Linked DNA regions of Homo sapiens: region 2 is linked to region 1. The links are contacts of gene promoters, found by promoter capture Hi-C in blood cells and fetal thymus (Javierre and others, 2016). All regions are on one chromosome and are shown on one strand. The core of a region is centred on a gene start or on the middle of the fragment in contact, and the rest is flanking DNA. Distances in the headings are between cores, read along the strand shown.

Region 1 (3,922 bases), core at 838-3,337:
TCCTAAGTAGCTGGGATTACAGGCATGTGCCACCACACCCGGCCAATTTTGTATTTTTAGTAGAGATGGGGTTTCCCCATGTTGGCTAGGCTGTTGTCGAACTCCTGACCTCAGGTGATCCACCTACCTTGGCCTCCCAAAGTGCTGGGATTACAGGCGTGAGCCACTGTGCCCGGCCAACACATTTTTATAAATGAATGAATGTTAAATGAATGTTTAGAATTATTAGAATTCTATTGGGTAGATGAGGCCCATAGAAAACTCTTGAGACCAATGTAGCAGGATTCTCAGTGAAAGACTAAGTTTGTGTGCAGGGATGTTTTCCTTCTCTAGCAAAGAGAGGTGCTGGAAAGGCTTTCATGGTCCATAAGAAGGGAATTGTTTTGGAGGGCAGTGCTATAGCAACTCTTCCCCTCCATTCACCACATAAAAAATTCAGTTAGAAAATAGAGAGGAATCAGCCTTCTTGTGCTTTGAAGACTGTGAAAGATACTGGTGATCATCCATCTAGCATCCATTTTCCTCTTCTCCTTTACAGGTCTCCAGTTTTATTCAAATAGCCATGTCTCCACCTTGCAACTCATGTGACTCAAAGAGCACTGACACCATTGCCAATTCCAATTGTCATAGCTCCTTTTCACTTCTGGAACCCAGGCTTAAGCTGTCTGTACATTTCCCAGGCAGTTACTGGTAAAGAGGAAGAGTGTGTGCCTGTGTGAACTTATTGGCTCAAAAAACCAGAAGGAAAGGTTTTAGATGAAAAAGAAAGTATGTGGTCCTGATTTCTCCAAGTAGACATCTGGAAAATCACGTTAGTATGAATTTGAAGTCTACCCTTTTTTTTTTTTACAACAAAGCAGAGACTAATAGCAACTGGGTCCTTGTTAACTTGCTTAGCCACTGAATTAATCAAAGTCTCCCTTGCCTCTGAGCTTTCTGTTATGCGAGATAAGCAACTTCTTTATTTTTTAGGAAGACAGTTTAACTCAGATTCTATATCACGTGCATCCAAAATAATAATAACTGACTCAAAGATGTTTGGCCTCTACAATTAGGGCAGCCATTCTCAGAAGAGTATGCAAGGGCACCCTATTATCTTGGAAAAGGGAAGCACTGAGACTATTTGCATTTTGAGAACTGAAAATGCAATCTGCTAACCGTCGTTAGAGTGAATATCCAGGTATGGAAAGCACAGTGGGTAGGCGTAGGTTGGGGTAGGGACATGTTTGCATGGGGCAAACACAGAGATCAAACCTAAGTGTAGTCCCAGCTGCCTGGAAGAAGGCTAAGAAGGGTCTGAAAGTATTGAGCTCCAAGAGCCCTTGGATCTCCTGATGAGAGACCCTTGGCTGATGCCCTAGATGGGACATCCCTGTTGGCTACTGTGGGACCTGCATCATTTGACTGCAACACAGTCTGTTGCAACATTTGACTGTAACACAGACCTACATCATTTGACTGATTTGAAAAGACAAGTTGTCAACAGCGACACCATGTGGCTATAAGATACAATGACAATGGTGGACAGCTACAGCCTCAGGTAGGGCCTGACGCTTCGTCGAGATGTGGAAAATGCTGAATGGGAAGATGAACTGTCGTCAACAAATATTTATTGGGGTCCTCCAAATGTCAGCTGCTACAGTGGTCATTCAGGTCTGGAACATCGAGAACATGCTGACCCGTACCCCAGCAAGGGCTCGTAGTCGCGGCGGGGTAGGGGGCGAGAGAGAGGGCAGTCTCTGGTGGCCAGGTAACCCAGGCTTCACTTTCACCCACGGCCACAAGTATTTCTGACGTCTTCCGGGCAAATAAGCCTCCATGTAAGTGACAGGGCACCCAAGGAGTGCGTTGGAAGCGCCAGCGTGCCCGAGACCAGCACATCGCACCGACGCCTTCGTTTGCGGTAAGCCCCGCCCCCCGTAGTGAGCCAACCGGAGGGAGCGGGGCGGACCCAGCTTCCCGGAGAGGCTGGAGAGAATCGTTTGGGGGCATTCGCAGGCCAAAGAGGGGCTGGCCCTCGACGCGCTCGGGCTCGATTGGCCGCCCTCCCCCGGCGGTGGTAACGGTCGCGGAGGCGGGGCCTGACGTAGCTGATCCCAGCCTAACCTGGCCCGGCTGGCTGCTGGTGGGAGGCCGGCGACTGAGTAAGGTGAGTGGCTCTCGGGGCTCTCAGAGGCGTCGGCGTGAGCCCCTTCCCGGAGTACCCCGGACTTGACCTCACCTGGGCCTAAAAGTGGTCAGACTGACCCTTGTCGGGGAGGAGCCATCTGGGACAGGGTCGCGCCAATTAAAAATCCCTGCGTAAGGGTTTGGGGATCGGACAAAACTGCCTCCAGTCCCAGCTCCCCAGGCTTTGTGTTCTTTGGCTTCTCCTTTAATGTCTCAGCGCCTCCGATTCTTTATTTGTATACTAAAGCTGGTAATTCTTGCCTTACAAGGTGGTTGTGAGGGTTAAATGAGGCAGTAAGAGTAAAGCTTAGAATCACGTCGGGCACAGACTCGATTTAAGCTGTAGGTAATTACTCCATCCCCCAAAATCGACCCGGGCTGAAGCGCTAGTTTTGTGTCAAACAACCGCGAAGGTTGTTTGGGGAGTGAGGACTCGGAGCAGAAGGGGGCGGTTAGGCGAATAGCACAGGTGAGTATCTCTTTCTCCAGTTTATTAACCTCATTCCGGATTCAGGAGACCTCTGACTTTATACAGGGCCTAATAGGAGTTTTTCAAGGTGAAAAATGCCAGAAGGCTAAGTCACCTGTAACAGAGAGACCAATCAGAGTTTCCTTTTTTACTGCCACTTTGTTTTTCAATCAATGATATTAAACAGGCAGGGCGCAGTGGCTTACGCCTGTAATCTCAGCACTTTGGGAGGCCGAGGTGGGCGGATCCCCTGAGGTCAGGAGTTCGAGACCACCCTGGCCAACATGATGAAACCACGTCTCTACTAAAAATACAAAAATTAGCTGGGCATGGTGGTGTGCGCCTGTAATCCCAGCTACTCGGGCGGGTGAGGCAGCAGAATCGCTTGAACTCGGGAGGCGGAGGTTGCTGTGAGCCGAGATCGCGCCACTGCACTCCAGCCTGGGTGACGGAGCGAGACTCTGTCTCAAAAATATATGTATAATATATTAAACTCTGTGCAGGCATTACCCATATTGGTTTCAAGCCTCTGCATGAGTTTTGTACTTTAAATATTGCCAAGTAGACTCTGGCCTCCCCTGCCCCGCCTTTTGGGGAAGAGGTGGCTGACTTGGAGTTTTCCCTACAGCTTTTGCTTCAAAGCAAGGTTCTGCCCCTTCATGTCACCTCTCCTGAGACAGAATGATTTGGTTGAGATGACATTCCATTTTAACTCTTTCCTATTTGGGGTAAGTTCAGCTCTTTCTTAGGAACATTAAACAGCAAGTTGCAATATTTTTAGAATAGAGCTTTTGCATTTAATAAGGAATAGAGACTTCGAAAGGGTTACATGTTCATTTATTGCAGTAATTTGAAGTATATACTTTTGAAGATGCTTACAGATTTTGGTGTGATTCAGTTGAGAAGGAACAGTTATTGGCCATGGTTTATTGTCAGCTCCCCTCCCCCACCCCAAATGGTGAAAAAAATAATTAAATTTTAAGATATGGAGCATGTTACAAGGGGCTTCAGACCTATAAAGGGCAATTTGGCTGAAAGACTCGGGAAACCTAGAAAGTGCCAGAAGATGCAATTATGTTTTTGCTTTTCTATGCTTGGCTTACTATGCCATGTACAAATCAACTCCTACCCTCCGACTCCTACCCCCCGACTCCTACCCCCAACAATCTTATTTTAAGTGTGTTATGACAGTAATTAAAGCTGTAGCTTCTGTTTTGGCCCTAGAAAGCATTTGGTCTCTTCCTGTGACTTTAAAGTTCCAGACCTTTGTCCTGTCACAGCCTG
Region 2 (3,922 bases), core at 760-3,259, 2.3 Mb after region 1:
CTTGAAGCTGGGAAGCAGAAGTTGCAGTGAGCTGCTGCACTCTAGCCTGGGCAACAGAGTGAACTCTGTCTCAAAAAAAATAAATAAACTTACACCCTTTGACCCACTAATTCCTCTTCTGGGAAAATCTACGGAAATGGTCAAAAATTGTTTTAAAAGGGGTGCAGGGCCGGGTGCAGTGGCTCACACCCATAATCCCAACACTTTGGGACGCCAAGGTGGGTGAATCACTTGAGGTCAGGCGTACAAGACCGGCCTGGCCAACATGGTGAAACCCTGTCTCTGCTAAAAATACAAAAAAAAAGTTGCCAGGCATGGTCGTGGGCACCTGTAATCCCAGCTACTTGGGAGGCTGAGGCAGGAGAATAGCTTGAACCTGGGAGGCAGAGGTTGCAATGAGCCAAGATCGCACCATGGCACTCCAGCCTGGGCAACAAGAGCAAAACTCCGTATCAAAACATAAAAATAAAAAGGGGTGCAGGAGGGGGTTCATATTAAATCAGCCTCCTAAGTTAACTTTGGCAAAAGAAAAACAGCTTCTGGAGGCTTCATCTAAACCTAGTAGGATCTACCTGGGAAAGGGCTAGGCGATGTTCCAGGGAAGAATTGAGCAATAGGCCCCAACAGAAAGAGTGTACAGGAGCACTGACAGGCCTTTCCAGAGGATGATCTAACATCTCCCTCAGCCCTAACAGAGTAGGTTAGAAGTAGCCCCAGGGGAGAGAAAGCACTCCTAGCACCACAAACCATCACTAAATTTACATTTCACTCTCAAGTGTCAAAAGGAACTGTTACCTTTGGACCCTTGTCAAATGCGAATTTATGACATCTGAATCAATATTAGACAAATATAGAGCTGTTCAAATCTCCTCACTTTAAGACCCCATCCCTCCCCCAGTGCCTCCCTCATGGTTGTGAGTTGTGCCTGAATACTCTTCATCTGTAAGAGTTTCACTTCTGCACCTTCCCGTTGGTTAATTCGTTCAGCACAACGGTCCAGACTCACCCACCAGTCACGGACACACTGGGCAAGCCTGGTTTCAAGTCAGGGATCACCTCTCCAAAATGGGCCGCCCAGCTTATCTCTGAAGGCCAGCTGGATTCTCGCCTCAAAACCCAGGCGGTGGGTGGCAGTGTTTCAACTGCTCAGTCCAGCCAAACATCGAGAGTAGCCTGCGCACTCCCAGAAAGGCCACCTGCTTCCGACACGTGCCTTTGCTACCCATCAAGGCGAGGCATGCTAAGGCCCTAAAGAGCTCGACCAGGCATTCTGCGGGCAGAAGTTCCACAAGTTCCTGCACGCGCACATCCCCCATTTCATGTTAGTGGAGTATGCCCAAGTTCAGTTTTCCTGCTTCCACAAAGGAGAAAGAACCTACCATCACTCTTTCATGGGGCACGAGAATAAGCACATGGTTTTTACTGAGCGCCTATCATTTTGCTATCTATGGTCTAACGATACACTTGTGAAGGAAGAATTATTATTAAAATGACCCACAGAGATTTAATAAGTTGCCCAAAAGCTTATGTTAAGTGTTGAGCTGGCTAGAGACGAGCCAGATCCGTCTAAATCCCAAGGGTTAAACAGTATGAAAAAGCACACAGGTGCTTCTGCTGGTTATACCCGCCTCCACGAGAAACGCTACAGGTTTTCAAGGTGAACACCCTTGCTCCGGCCCCTCCAGGCACCGTGCGGATTGGCAGGGAGGCCTCGGACGCCGCAAGCCGGGCACGCAGTGATAGGTCGCGGACGCCAGGGGCGGGACTCACTTAGGCCCCTCAGGACTCACTCGCTTGTGCTGCGCGTCAATACGGCGTTGGCCCCCTCCCAGCAGCGCGGTCCGGCGCTTGTTTTCGATGCGTTCGTTAACAGAGGTGGCCTGGCTGCAAAGGCTGCGGACCGCGGCGCGGAGACCGCTCGCCAGAACGCTGAGCCTTGCCCCGACCGCCGCCACCCGTAATGCCGCCGCCATTTTTGCTGTGCCGGCGCGTCCCCTACCGGCGCACCTGAGTACGCATGTGCTAAAGCGTGGGTACGGCGCTTGCGCAGCATCGGCTGGCTGTAGGGAGCCGCGGGGGCTGGACTACAGAACCTGCTTGGGAGTAAGGCGTGAGAGTTCGAGACCCGGTGCTGCCCGAGGAGGGTCGCGCAGAGAAAAAGTACAGGGCCTGCCTGGCTGCACAAAAAAGGGACATAGTCCTTGCTCTTCTCTGACCACCTAGACCCTTAACTTTGTCGTCCCACTTCCTACAGAAAATGATTATAAGATTTAACCAACATTTATTAAGCATTGTGCCAGGTGTTGCTTTTTGCACTTACCATGCACTAGCTTACTATCTGGATTTCACAGATGAGGTAAATCAAGCACAGAGAGATGAGTGATTTGATCAAGAGGCAAGACTGAGGCCGAGGTAGGTGAGCCCAGGAGCCCAAGACCAGCCTGAGCAATATAGTAAGACCCCACCTCTACAAAAAAATTAAAAATTAGCTGGGCATGGCGGCTTGCACCTGTGACCCCAGCTACTCGGGAGGCTAAGGCGGCAGGATGGCTTGGCCCAGGAAGTCGAGGCTGCAGTGAGCCGTGATTGCATCACTGCACTCCAGCCTGGGCAAAACCCTGTCTCAAAAAAAAAAAAAAAAAAAAGCCAAGACTGACAATGTGGTTGGCCAGGATTCAAACTCAGAGACCTATCATTAATATGTGCCAGATAATGAGCACAGGACCCTTAACCTCTAATCAGTAGTTCTCAAAGTATGGATCCCATTAAAGAAAAAACTATTCATGACACTTAATTATTCATGTTTAAGAATGGTAAGGCAAACTTTATTCAGGCCCAATCTGACAGAGGTAGGGATAGAGTTTTGCCATAAGTCAGAGCGATTGGGCTGAATATAGCAAAGTGGTAATTTATAGCTAAGGGGCAGTGTGTGGAAGTCAGTGGATGGAAAATTACTAAGAGGAAACATTGGCGGGGAATCTGGCTAAATTGACCTAACAGGATTCCTGCCCAAGGCAGGTCAGGGTAACTGAACATCACCTGGGGGATGGTGGCGGTATGGGTCAAAACCAGATATGGAGAGTAATCAGATATCAAGAATGGAGGATTCTGGCTAAACTGACTTGGCAAGTTTCTTGCTAAAATGGAATTCCACAAGGAATGACATGGGAGCCCACACTCAGGCCTAGTCAAAGAGAGAGCTCAGAAGAGCCTGACCAATGTTTGATCAAGGAGGGAATCTTGTCAATCCAGCAACTTCAGTATCACCTGGGAGTGAGTTGGAAATGCAAGCTCGAATTCTCAGAACTTACTCCAGACCTTTAAATCAGAAACTCTGGGGCTGGGGCCAGCCATCTGTTTTAGCAGATGACCTTTAGGTGATTCTGATCTGCTTGCTAAAGTTTAAGAACCACTGCTCTAGGAATTTGGAATTGTACTGTTGAGAGCTTGACCATCTGTTTCTCCCACTAACAGGCAGGTCTTCAAGACAAAGAACATGGTTTATATTTCTCATTTTTAGCCACAGAAAACTGCTAAAGTTGATCATGAGCCCTTCCCAGATCCAGCTCATAGCCAGGGCCTTCATAAAGTACAAATTCTGACCTATGACCTTAATGTTAATGCAATTCAACTCAGAAAACATTTTTGAGCACCTACCATGTGCCAAGAACTAAACATCAGTACTGATTGCATTTCCTGGAGTAGTAACAGTTCATCTAGATAGAGAGGGCAGCTTAGAGGCCAAAGCCTCTTGGCTAGGCAAAGCCCACCTGTATCTGTATAACTCCGTAATGGGTACTCTTGACCTTGCATTTGGGTCCTTGCTTTAAAGACTTTACCAACCTAGAGAGGCAGATGGACAACCTAGAGAGGCAGATTGCCTTGGGAGCACAAGAGAGAATTTGAGTAAGGCTGAGTGTGT

Evidence for each region. The method cuts DNA at HindIII sites, captures the fragments that hold promoters and counts their contacts. A CHiCAGO score of 5 or more calls a contact.
Region 2: a contact is called between the fragment with the promoter of PCCB here and the fragment with the promoter of CEP70 in region 1, in 2 of 17 cell types (fetal thymus and activated CD4 T cells). The highest score is 9.9, in fetal thymus.

The regions. Positions count from the first base shown.
Region 1 is chr3:138,592,425-138,596,346 of GRCh38, reverse strand. It overlaps CEP70 (centrosomal protein 70), which reads left to right and starts at 2,087. Exons shown (of 18, transcript NM_024491.4): 1 at 2,087-2,149. RefSeq lists an enhancer at 1,823-1,882. The HindIII fragment of the contact is 6,508 bases long and covers 1-2,477 here.
Region 2 is chr3:136,248,427-136,252,348 of GRCh38, reverse strand. It overlaps PCCB (propionyl-CoA carboxylase subunit beta), which reads right to left and starts at 2,009. Exons shown (of 15, transcript NM_000532.5): 1 at 1,791-2,009. The coding sequence starts at 1,973. RefSeq lists enhancers at 1,535-1,584, 2,215-2,274, 1,504-2,370. The HindIII fragment of the contact is 10,493 bases long and covers 1,526-3,922 here.